3 separate regions of the Homo sapiens genome follow, and regions 1 and 2 are each linked to region 3. Evidence: promoter capture Hi-C in 16 types of primary human blood cells and fetal thymus (Javierre and others, 2016). All regions are on one chromosome and are shown on one strand. The core of a region is centred on a gene start or on the middle of the fragment in contact, and the rest is flanking DNA. Distances in the headings are between cores, read along the strand shown. Region 1 has its middle 3.9 kb from the start of GJB3. Region 2 overlaps ZMYM1 (zinc finger MYM-type containing 1). Region 3 holds the start of TMEM35B (transmembrane protein 35B).

Region 1 (3,823 bases), core at 530-3,029, 210 kb after region 3:
GTTTCAGTTTGCACTCCAAGGGACAAGGGAGTGCCTGTATCCCCATATACGTACCAATAGAGAGCGTTATCAAGCTTTATGATCTTTGTCAATGATATCTCATCATACTTTATTTTGCATTTCTCTTGGTATGAGTGAGATTGAGCATCTTTTCACATATTTAAGGGCCGCTTTTGTTTGTTATCCTGTGAACAGTTCTTTGCCTTTGCCATTTTTCTATTGGATGGTTGACTTTTATTATTTATTTCTCAGGAGCTCTTTACATACTAAAGAAATAAGCCCTCCTCTGTCTGTGATACAAATAGAAAGGATTCCCTCTGCCTCTGCTGCTTCTTGACACCTGTGATTTGACTTTATAGACGGGGGTTTTGCCATACAGAATTAAACATGTTTTATGTAGTCCAGTGTATTAATATTATCTTTTATGGCCCTTGGGTTTTGTTGTCATTAGAAATGCCTTCACCACTCTGAGGACTGCAATAACATTTTTTCCCGTGGTTGCTTCTAGCTGAAGTAGTGTTTTAACGATCTATTAGACTGGTGCAAAAGTAATTGTGGTTTTTGCCATTGAAAGTAATGGTAAAAACCGCAGTTACTTTTGCACCAACCTAATAGATCATGCCACTTCCCTCTTAAAACCTTACAGTGACTTATCATTAACTTTAGACTGGCATCCACTCTCTTGACGTTGAGCCCCAAGGCACCAGGCGACCTAGTCCTGCCTCTCCCCCATCTCTCATCCCCTTGGGCGCTGTAGTGGCCTTCTTTCTGGTTCTTGAACAAGCCACATTCAGGTCAGCCTTCTGGTTTTTGCCTTTGCTGTTCTCTCTGCCTGGACTGCCTTCTCCTGACTCTTTACTTGGAAGCTTCCTCCTCCTTATTCAGGTCTCACCTTCTTACAGAGGTGTTCCCTGGTTCCCCCACCCCCACCCCAAATGTTCCTTGCTCCACTTCCTCAGCAGACACTCTTCACAGCCGTCTCTGAAATTATCTCCAGGAGAGCAGGGAGCTCCCTGGTCACGTTCCTGCCACATTACCAGGGCCTGGAATGTACAGACTCTCAGTCACTATTTGTAAACACTGGGTGCACATAAGGTTATGTGCGAGAACTGTTTCTGTGTGTGTAAGCCTGGAGAGCTGTGTGTTAAGGGTGGTATGTGGGCCACGTGTGTGTAGGCTTTGATGTGCGTTGTTGTGAGTGTGTGTGATGGTGGAGATGGCTGGGGTGGTGTGGGAGGCTGTGTGCATGTGTGGTTGTGAACGTGTGTGATGGCAGAGATGGCTGGGGTGGTGTGGGAGGCTGTGTGCATGTGTGGTTGTGAACGTGTGTGATGGCGGAGGTGGCTGGGGTGGTGTGGGAGGCTGTGTGCATGTGTGGTTGTGAACGTGTGTGATGGCGGAGATGGCTGGGGTGGTGTGGGAGGCTGTGTGCATGTGTGGTTGTGAATGTGTGTGATGGTGGAGGTGGCTGGGGTGGTGTGGGAGGCTGTGTGCATGTGTGGTTGTGAATGTGTGTGATGATGGAGATGGCTGGGGTGGTGTGGGAGGCTGTGTGCATATGTGGTTGTGGTGGTGTGTAGTGGTGTCTATGTGTGTGGTTGGGTTATTCTGCTCTGGTAACCAGGTGATTTTATCACCTAGGTCCTGTCATTCTGACTCTGCCAGATGCTGGCTTTTCACTCTTGATATGAGATAGTGCCCCCAACAACTGGCCTTTGCTTTTTCTGGAGTGAGCTGGAAGAGTTCCCCATTCCAGAGAGAATGGCTCTGAGAACCTTAATGCCTTGTGGTCCTGCCCTAAATTTCTGCTCCCTGAGTAGGGGAATGTGTAGGAGGCCATCTAGGCCATCCCCCTGCCTCAGGACAAAGCTGTGTTGCACCAGGGATTGGCAGCTGCCCTCAGGGCTTACACCTGCTCTCTAGGGGTGGCAGGGCCAGAGCCTGTACCTCTTCTGGCCCTGGCCCTGGCCCAGGCGGTGCTGCTCCCAGGCTGTCCTCTCCACCTAGAGCTCTGCCCAGGCCTCAGGCAGGTGCTTCCTGAGATGGGAAGACCACCCCGCCCCCCACCCCTGCCACCTCTCAGACTGGAGTTTTCCTTATCTTTGTGTGTCTGCAGCAGAGGCATGAGGCCCTTTCCTTCCTTGAGTGGAGAGGTGGGGCAGGCAGAAGCCATGGGAAACAGATCAGGCAGAGGGATGGGGGCTTTTGAGCCCTGCTCAGGCATGTCTGGGGCTGCAGGCAGGGAGGAGGCGATCTTCCAGGGAGGCCCTGGGCTGGAGTGTTGCTTATTTTCCAAGACACCTAGAGTTGCTCGAAACTTCTGCCCACACACCTTGCTCCTCGAATGGAGGTAATACGTGACTTTGCTGAGCTGCTGTCAGGAGCCAACCATACCATTCTAATATGCACGCACCCCTTCTTACCCACCAGGCACCTCCCTCCACCTCCTCTCTTCCTCCTCCATCATTGACCTTTTGCTCTTTACTGGATCTTTCCTGTTACCATGTGGGTATTTCTCCATCTTAACAACAAAACAACAAGACACCTTAACCTGAACCCCACTTCTCCTTCCAGCATCTGCCTCATTTCTTTCCACTCCTTTACAGCAAAATCTATCCAAAGACTTGTCCTGATTCATTATCTCCATTTTTTCTCTTTCATCTTCTCTTGAACTTACTCTAATCAAGCTTTAGCTTCCTATATGACACCAAAACTGCTCTTGTCAAAGTCCCTATAGCTAAACCCCATGGCCAAGTTTCAACCCTCATCTTTCCCTGAACCCTCAGCAGCGTTGAATGAAGTTGATTCCTCTCGCCTTGACACTATTCCTTTGGCTTCAGAGGCATCACACTCTCCTGACTTTTCTACTTCCTTTCTGCACTTTCTTTCTCAGTCTCCTTTGCTGGTTACTCCAGATCTTCCTGACTTTTAAGAACTGGGATGCCTTGAGGCTCAGTCCTTGCATTCTTTCTCTTCTCTGTCCTCCCTTGCTCACTTGGTAACATCATCCAGTCTCAGGGTTTAAAATACGAAAATTTAGCTGACAACCGCTAAATACGTATCCCCAGCCCAGACCATTCCTCTAAACTCTGTACTCATGTGTCCAGCTGTTAGTAAACTTTCTCCTAGGATGTTTAACATAGGTATCACAAACCTATGTTAAGCTCCTTACTTACTAGGGTTGCCAGATTTAGGAACAAAGCAAAAGCACAACCAGGACACCCAGTTAATTCTGAATTTCAGCTAGTACATGGGACACACATTAAAAAATTGTTGGCTGGGTGCGGTGGCTCACGCCTGTAATCCCAGCACTTTGGGAGGCCGAGGAGGGCAGATCACGAGGTCAAGAGATCCAGACCATCCTGGCCAACATGGTGAAATCCCATCTCTACTAAAAATACAAAAATTAGCTGGGCGTGGTGGCGCGTGCCTGTAGTCCCAGCTACTCAGGAAGCTGAGGCAGGAGAATCGCTTGAACCCAGGGAGGTGGAGGTTGCAGTGAGCCGAGATCGTGCCACTGCACTCCAGCCTGGTGACAGAGTGAGACTCTATCTCCAAAAAAAAAAAAAAAAAAAAAAAAAAAAAAAAGTTTGTCTGAAATTTGCTCATCTGGCAACCTATTCCTTTTCTTCCTCTCTGACCTTTTCTCTCACTTGTTCTAGTAAATGGCAGTTTTACTCATCGACTTGCTCAGGCCCCAAACCTTTGAGTCTTCATTGATCCTCTTTTCCCATATCCCACATTCAATGTCTGTGAATCATTTTGGTGCCACTTTCAAAATATTTATAGGGTCTGGCCACTTCTCGCTGACTCCATTAATATT
Region 2 (4,240 bases), core at 452-2,951, 130 kb before region 3:
TCTACTGAGATTAAAACGCCATTTTTAAAGTAAGAGATTAGGAAAGATCAAAACATTTGATAACACTTACAAAGATTTAATAGGCACTCTCATGCATTGTGGGTGGGACTGTAAACTGGCACAATCCTTATAGATGGCAACTTGCCAATATCTATCAAAAGTAAAAATGCACATATCTTAACCTAGTAATTCTAACTTTAGATTTCCAGCTTACAGTAAACTCACTCATGTGCAATGTGACCTATATAAAAGGTTATAAAATGAATCATTATTTATAATAGCAAAAGGTTAGGAAAAAAATGTCAGCAGGGACTGCTCAAATATATTATGGTACATTCATACAATAACATCTGCAATTATAGACCAAGAATCAAGAAACTCTTCATGTAACGACATGGGACAATCTCAAAAATATGTTACACAGAGAAGACAAGCTGAAGAACAGTATACACCGTACAATACCACTTAGGAAAAATACCTCTAGAGGGATATTTAAGGAAAAGATAACACTTTTTGGGAAGAGAAAATGAGTTCTAAAGGAGGGAAGGAGACTTCACTGTTTATCGTTCTGTGTCTTTTGAATTTTGAACAATTTTGAAATGAAAACATCCCAATGGAAATACAAGTCTTTTAGGTAAGTTCAAATGAGCATGTATTATATTTCTTTCATCTGACTGATAAACTTTTCCACAATTTCATTGAGTCTTTCAGGCTCCATTAGTTTATTTACCAACTCCTGCTCAACAGCCATTAGGGCTGGGCCAGTAAGCTTCTCTTGTCCCATGGTATTACATAAATATGTCTTAAGACGAGGCAGGGTAGAAAATGAGTTCTCAGTACTTGCTGAAGTAATTGGCCAAGACAAAGCAATATATAATAGCTTTGAGAGACAAGGAATATTACTGTGAAGACCATGCTGAATAAACAAACAGCCGAGACTGACGAAGTTTATGCAACTATCATCTATGACAAAGTTAAGCTTTGCATAATGTCGATAAAATCTAAGTTCTGGGATAATGTCCTCATCAAGTTTATAAAATTCCTGAACATGTTTTGCTGTTGTTTCATTTAATGGTTCATTCCATTTAAATAACAGTTCTGAAATTTGCTTTATTTTGCAATAATCAAACTCCGAAAAACATAACTTTAAATTTTGTAATATAGTATCTAATCCTTGGTAATAGATATTAATTTTATATTGTTCTTCTGTTGAAGTAGGAAAAAACATATTATCTGAATTGCCAAGATCTACTGATTTCTGAATTTTTCTTCTTTTCTGAAGAGAAGGTTTTTCAACTTTAAAACCTTTACAGGTTATTTTTTGACATATTTCCTCTGTTCCATCCCAGATTGTTTTAAAGTATACGTCATTTCTTTCAGATGATAAACATTCCAAAATTGCTTCTATTTTTGAAGACAAAGAAAAAATGTCTATGGTTTTATTTTGAAGCTCTTTGGAAAGAATTCCTGTAACACTCAGCACTCGATACAGGAATTTCAAACAAAAGACAAATTCAAATTTGGAAACCAATGTCAGCAAATGACTCAATTCATCGGCGAAACTTGTATTTGAAGAATGGCTTGCTATAACTTCCAATGTTTCAATAATCTCTGGAAGACTGTCAATCACAGATAGTAATGTACGATCATGGACTGTCCAACATGATTGTGATATATGTTTCTTGCATGTTTTGTTTTGACTTAGCCTATAAATGTTTCGAAAATTTGCCAACATTTCCCCAGACATACAAATAGTGTTGAACAAAGAACTGAGAGTTTTTAGAGCACTTCGGAGTTCTTTTACTTCTTTACAAAACCTAATTATTGATAAATCCAAAAAGTGTGCATAACAATGTATGTATAAAGCTCTTGGTTCTTCTTTCTTGAATTCTGCTGCTATTTTATTAAATTTTATCTTCAAATTAGTGGTGCTATCATAGGCCTGGCCATGTATTTTATCCATATCAACTCCAATTTGCTGCAGATAAGTTTTGATAGTCCTATGTAAGTGGGTCCCAGTCATCTCCTCAGTATCAACAAAACCCAAGAATCTTTCCTTAATTAAGATAGCCTTTGATGATTTTTGTGGGTATCTTACACAAATTGAAAGCTGTTCTTTCATGGCACTATTGATTGTCTCATCACATATGATTGAAAATGCTGAGGAGTCATTGATCTCATTCACAATATCCTGCAACATTTCAGTCTTTATTATTTCGATAATATCACTTTGAATTTGTGTACTGTTATAGAAGTCAACTTGTGAATTCATAAGTCGAAATGTTTCTTCTCCTTTATCTTTTGCTCTCATTTCTAACAATTCTAAAAAATTGCCTTTATTCACAGATGAAACTGACTGGTCGTTTCCTCTTAAGGGTAAACACTGCTTTCCAAGAAATAAAATATTTTCAATTATAAGCTTTAGGTACTTTTTATTTCCCTCAATCTGTTTCGAATGAATAGATAAATCGTCACTGACAGCTCCATCACAAAATTGGTATTCTCTCCAAAATTCCAATGACTTCAAATGCATTTCACTTTTTTCATGCTTTCTGAATTTTTCCAGGGTTTTTTTCCAATTAGAAGTTCCGTGGGTTGCAAATGACTCTCTTCCACAGCTAAAATATTTTTGGCAGAACAACTGGCATGAATAACAGAATGCCACATCTTTTTTACTGTTTTCCAAACACTCAAAATCTGCACAACAAGATTTTTTAATACTTCGTGATTTACCTTTAACTTTTTGTACTTTGGATGTACATTTTGGGTGACATAGTTCATCACTTATTTTCATAGATTTCATATTGTCTTTTTGTACTTCTGTACTGGAACCAATTGCATGCTGACTGAATACTGATGAAGATGGTGAAACGCTTGGCTGTTCCGTACTACTACTAGCAACAGCATTACTGGGTTCACTAGGTGAACTCTTAGAAAGCTTTGGGAGAAAATGAGAAAAGAACATTTAACAGTTTTCAAAAATTAATTAAAATATCAAATATATCTACTCTAATAACATAGTAAAATAAATGGCTGAGTTACAGTATGAGCTCCACTAGGGGGAAACGTTAACAATTACGTATAACTTATTTATTTGCAATCTAGATTCAGCATTAAATGTTTGAAGGACCTTTTGGTATGTAATTGTCATAAAAATAATTTTTATTGCTCAGATGACTCAAATTGTGTAGTATTTTTTTAAAAGAAGAACCCAGAGGAAAAAAATACTTCTGTTTAAACAATCTACAAACATACACACACACCCCATATATGAATACATAATACATAAAATATATATTAAATATATAAATATAATATATAATAAATATACATTATAATATATTTATATTATATACAATATATTATAATATATTTATATTATATATTTATATTTTTATATATTATAGTATATATTATATATATATATAAAAAATCTGGGCCAGGTGTGGTGGCTCATGCCTGTAATCCCAGCACTTTGGGAGGCCAAGGTGGGCGGATCACCTGAGGCCAGCAGTTCGAGACCAGGTTGGCCAACATGGTGAAACCCCTTCTCTACTAAAAATACAAAAATTAACTGGGCATGGTAGCAGGCGCTGGTAATCCCAGCTACTCAGGAGGCTGAGGCAGGAGAATCGCTTGAACCCAGGAGGCAAAGGTTGCAGTGAGCTGAGATCACGCCACTGCACTCCAGCTTGGGTGGCAGAGCGAGACTCTGTCTCAACAACAACAACAACAAAAATCTGCTTATTAAAAAAAGACAGTGGTAAAAAAAGTTAAAACTTACATCCACAATGACATCTGCTGTTGCTGTTACTGAAGAAACTGTATCTGTTAAAATAGAGCATAAATTCAAGATCTTATATACTATAACCTATAAAATAGCATCATAAACTATATTTGCTTATTTCATATAAGAAACAAAAAGAAAATTTAGCATATAGACAGATTTATCAAGTATGACAAAACAATATTTATGTCAAATATCTTAACATCAACTTTTACCTTGTAAGACATCAGTGTTCATGATGGGCAAGGCAACATCGGTGTCTGCCAATGACACTATATTGCTTATAACTGGAGTCGTATCTTTCTTTGGAGAAAGAAGCTCTGTTGAAGTATCATGCACCACAGAAACAACACTTACTGACAACAATAAAAAGATTTCTTATAAACAAGGCAAAATCAATCATCAGAAAGTACTGTTTAGTAATACTGTTTAAAGAAATAATGCAAGCATCTA
Region 3 (3,978 bases), core at 153-2,652:
AAGGTTGTGAGTAGGTGGAAAAGATAGATCTTTTTTTTGAGATGGAGTTTTGCTCTTGTTGCCCAGGCTGGAGTGCAATGGCGTGATCTTGGCTCACTGGAACCTCTGCCTCCTAGGTTCAAACAATTCTCCTGCCTCAGCCTTCCAAGTAGCTGGGGTTACAGGCATGTGCCACCATGCCCGTCTATTGTATTTTTTTTAGTAGAGACGGGGTTTCACCATATTGGTCAGGCTGGTCTCTATCTCCTGACCTCAAGTGATCCACCTGCCTCGGCCTCCCAAAGTGCTGGGATTACAAGTGTGAGCCAACGTGCCCAGCTGGAAAAAGATAGATCTAAGCAGCTTGGGTAACTATAAATGGAAGCAGCAGGGGGATTTGAGACCCCTGCTTGGGGCCTTTCTGGCCCAATATACCAGGGCTTAGCAAACTTTTTAAATAAAGAGCCAGATAGTAAATATTTTCAGCTTTGCAGGCCATACTGTCACAACTACTCAATTCTGCAGTTGCAGTGCAAAAGCAGCCATAGACAATATGCAGATAAGTGTGGCTGTTTTTAAATAAAACTTATTCATGAACACTGAAATATGAATTTCATATAATTTTCCTATGTCACACAAGCTTCTTTAAAAAATGTTTTTATCATAAAAAATGTAAACAAACATTATTAGCTTGGGGGAAGGGGAGAAGCATGGAAAAAAATCAGACATCTGGCCAAATTTGGCCCATGGTTTGCCCATCCCAGCTTTAGACAGATTTCCAGGTAAGAGCAAATGGGCCAGGAGTGGACTGTAGGGCTTGGTTCAGTGAAAGCCTCTCTATCCATGCAAGTATCTGAATTTTCAAACACCTTTCACATTTCATTGTCAGCCGAGATAAATTAGAGGGAAAAGATATCTCAGGCAAAGAGACTTATTTAATAATTAATGGTTATTGATTTATTACAATTTTATAAATTAATTTACTAATTTACAAATAACTTTCTGAGCTCTTACATGTGCAGGCACTGTGCTAGGCCTGTTACAAACTCTGGAGAACTGAGTTATCCCCATATACAGATGCAGATACTGAGGCCCTTTGGGGTGGGTGACAGCTCAGATCCCACAGCTAGTGTGGCACAGGCAGGAACGAAGCCCGGGGTCTTTTGATGGTAGCTGAACCGCACCCAGACACCCACCCGTGTCTGCCAGCACTCCGTATTGGCTGGGAAACACTCCCTGAATCCAAAGGTGCCTGTTTAGTCAGTTACCAGCCAGTGGTCCTCAAGTGTCCCCACCTGTAAGATGGGGGCGCCCTGCCCCAGTACTGCAGCCTCGCGACCCCCTGGAGGGTGGGGGACGGTAGCTCAGGCGAGAGTCTTCCGGCTGCCCCGGGGAGGGAGGAAATGAGCCGGCGGCAGGGGCGGGTTTTCGGCGGGGCCAACCCACGGTGGGGGGAGCGCGGCCATGGCGCTCCTGCTTTCGGTGCTGCGTGTACTGCTGGGCGGCTTCTTCGCGCTCGTGGGGTTGGCCAAGCTCTCGGAGGAGATCTCGGCTCCAGTTTCGGAGCGGATGGTGAGCGGCGCGGGCGGGCGGCAGGGGATCGGGCCCGCGGCGGCGTGTGCTCCGCCCTGCCGCTCCTCGCCCCCGGCCCGGCAGGCCGCCTTCGGGCTTCCGAGGCTCAGCTGGAGCTGGGGGAAAGCGCCTGGCTTTCGACTGAGGCGCAGGTCCTGCCTGGGGAGTTCCTCGAGTTCTCTGGATCTTCCCTAGACGGAAGGGGACAGAACCTCCCCTTCCTGCAGAATATTGGTGGCCCCAGGCAAATCTAGAGCCTTAGGAGGTCCCTCCCACCCCCCCGGACCCTGGGGGAGGATGATGCGGTGGGAAAATGAGCTCACTTCCCGCTCTCTTCCCTCTTTTCGCCGTTTGCTTCAGTTTTTGGGAGGTTCGTGGGGTTGGGGTGTAGTAATCCTGGCTTTGCAGGGAAGGAAGCCCGCCCTGAAGGGCAAGTATATCTGCTAAAGATTGCACATCTAGTCAGGAAGCAGGACACAAGCTAGACACTCCTAACTCGGAACCCAGAGAGGGAAGCCTCTCTCGGAAGCCTGAGAGGGATGCCCTGAAGTCGTCTTTCAGCCTTCTGTCTAGTTCCAGACTCATGGGAAAGCTTTCATATCCTGTTCACCAATCTCCCCAGTCCCTCAAAAGAGCCAGACTTGTAGACCTCTGCTGGCATCTCTCTCCAAGGCCTGGATAAATCCCCAGAGACAGACAGCTTAGAGCTGCTTCCCAGCAGAGCTGAGGAGGGGAGGTAGAGCTGAGGAGTGGGAACAGGAAAAAGTATCCCCGAAAGTAAGGATGAAGTTGTCATTTGGCTCAGGGGAGGGCCTGCCTTGACAAGAAGAGTCACTTTGAGCCCACCTAACTCTGCCTCACCTCCAAATATTCCCTGTACAGCAGCCTTAAGAGAAACCAGGCCAGACACAAAGAAGGAAACTGTGGAATTCCCCAGGCCTTGGCACTAGGGAGCCAAGCCCAGCCCCCTCCTCCTGGGATTTGGGGCTGGGTTGTAATCTCTTGAGAGGTCTAGTGAGAAGATCAATCTCTGTACCACTTGGAGCATGGAGCCTGTTTCCTGATTCCAAAGCTCAGCGCCACAGGGCAGCCCTCTCCTCTTCAGGCTGACCTCAGCCCTGGACCTGACCTAGAGTAGTAGTTCTTTTCTCTGGGAAGTTGAGGGCACAGGCATAGATATGCCATGGAGCATCTGGGGAGCTCATCCTTGTTGAACAATGAGGCTAACAGGCATTCCTTGCCACCCCTAGAATGCCCTGTTCGTGCAGTTTGCTGAGGTGTTCCCGCTGAAGGTATTTGGCTACCAGCCAGATCCCCTGAACTACCAAATAGCTGTGGGCTTTCTGGAACTGCTGGCTGGGTTGCTGCTGGTCATGGGCCCACCGATGCTGCAAGAGATCAGTAACTTGTTCTTGATTCTGCTCATGATGGGTAAGGGGGCCAACTGGCCTGAGAAAATGGGGTCTTCTGGGGGAGGATTATGGAAAGACCTGGCTGTTCCCCCTTACTGTTGCCACCCTTCTTTTTTCTCTGGGATCAAGAGCACTTTCTGCTCTACCACAGTTTCCATGGTCTTCAAACTAGCACAGGTATTTTTTTTTTTTTTTTTTTTTTTTTTTGAGATGGAGTCTCGCTCTTTCGCCCAGGCTGGACTGCAGTGGCACTATCTCTGCTCACTGCAACCTCCGCCTCCTGGGTTCACACCATTCTCCTGCCTCAGCCTCCCGAGTAGCTGGGACTACAGGCGCCTGCCACAGCGCCCGACTGATTTTTTTGTATTTTTAGTAGAGACAGGGTTTCACCATGTTAGCCAGGATGGTCTCGATCTCCTGAACTCGTGATCTGCCCGCCTTGGCCTCCCAAAGTGCTAGGATTACAGGCTTGAGCCACTATGCCCGGCCTAGCACAGGTACTTTTTAAACTTAATGTGCTAGAACATTATCACATGTTAAGTGTACCTTCTACCTCCTCAATTCTAATGGCTGCATAGTATTGCCTTGTGAAGATATATTGCAAGCTCAGCGCCTCTGCTCCTTCCTCCACACATCCACTCCTAGGATGAGGGGATGGAGGAGCAGCTGCCATTTGATGCATGTGTCTGGCAGATTGGTGTAGAGAGCAGGGAAGCTGGAGAACCTTGAACAGGAAGGCAGAGAATTTCCCTAGGGAGTCCCCCTCAAGTAGCTCTGCCCACAGGAACTGCTGATGTACAAAGACAGCTGTTGCTTCAAAGGCCAGATATCTTCAGGCTCTTCTATATGCCCTGGCATCTGTTACCATTGCTGCCACTGCTACCAGGCTTGCTTCCATCTCTGGAGCTTCTCCCATTTTCAGATCTTTCCCATACCTCCAACCAACAGCCCCTGGGCTAGTCCTTCCCTCCATCTTAATCTTAGTAGATGTAGGATTAAGAAAGGAGAAGGGGCC

The links. The method cuts DNA at HindIII sites, captures the fragments that hold promoters and counts their contacts. A CHiCAGO score of 5 or more calls a contact.
Region 1: a contact is called between a fragment that was not itself captured here and the fragment with the promoter of TMEM35B in region 3, in 1 of 17 cell types (megakaryocytes). The highest score is 5.6, in megakaryocytes.
Region 2: a fragment that was not itself captured here is called in contact with the fragment with the promoter of TMEM35B in region 3 in 2 of 17 cell types (endothelial precursors and megakaryocytes); the score reaches 6.6 in endothelial precursors.

Annotation. Positions count from the first base shown.
Region 1 is chr1:34,775,354-34,779,176 of GRCh38, reverse strand. No RefSeq gene overlaps it. Among named protein-coding and RNA genes, the nearest start is that of GJB3, 3.9 kb to the left of the region's middle. The HindIII fragment of the contact is 1,821 bases long and covers 869-2,689 here.
Region 2 is chr1:35,111,675-35,115,914 of GRCh38, reverse strand. It overlaps ZMYM1 (zinc finger MYM-type containing 1), which reads right to left. Exons shown (of 10, transcript NM_024772.5): 8 at 4,003-4,143; 9 at 3,785-3,828; 10 at 56-2,938. The coding sequence ends at 656. Among named protein-coding and RNA genes, the nearest start is that of ZMYM1, 34 kb to the right of the region's middle. The HindIII fragment of the contact is 1,440 bases long and covers 982-2,421 here.
Region 3 is chr1:34,982,771-34,986,748 of GRCh38, reverse strand. TMEM35B (transmembrane protein 35B) reads left to right here and starts at 1,402. Exons shown (of 3, transcript NM_001195156.2): 1 at 1,402-1,551; 2 at 2,802-2,982. The coding sequence starts at 1,444. It overlaps ZMYM6 (zinc finger MYM-type containing 6), which reads left to right. Exons shown (of 16, transcript NM_007167.4): 16 at 1-584. RefSeq lists silencers at 1,424-1,713, 1,774-1,843. The HindIII fragment of the contact is 1,524 bases long and covers 622-2,145 here.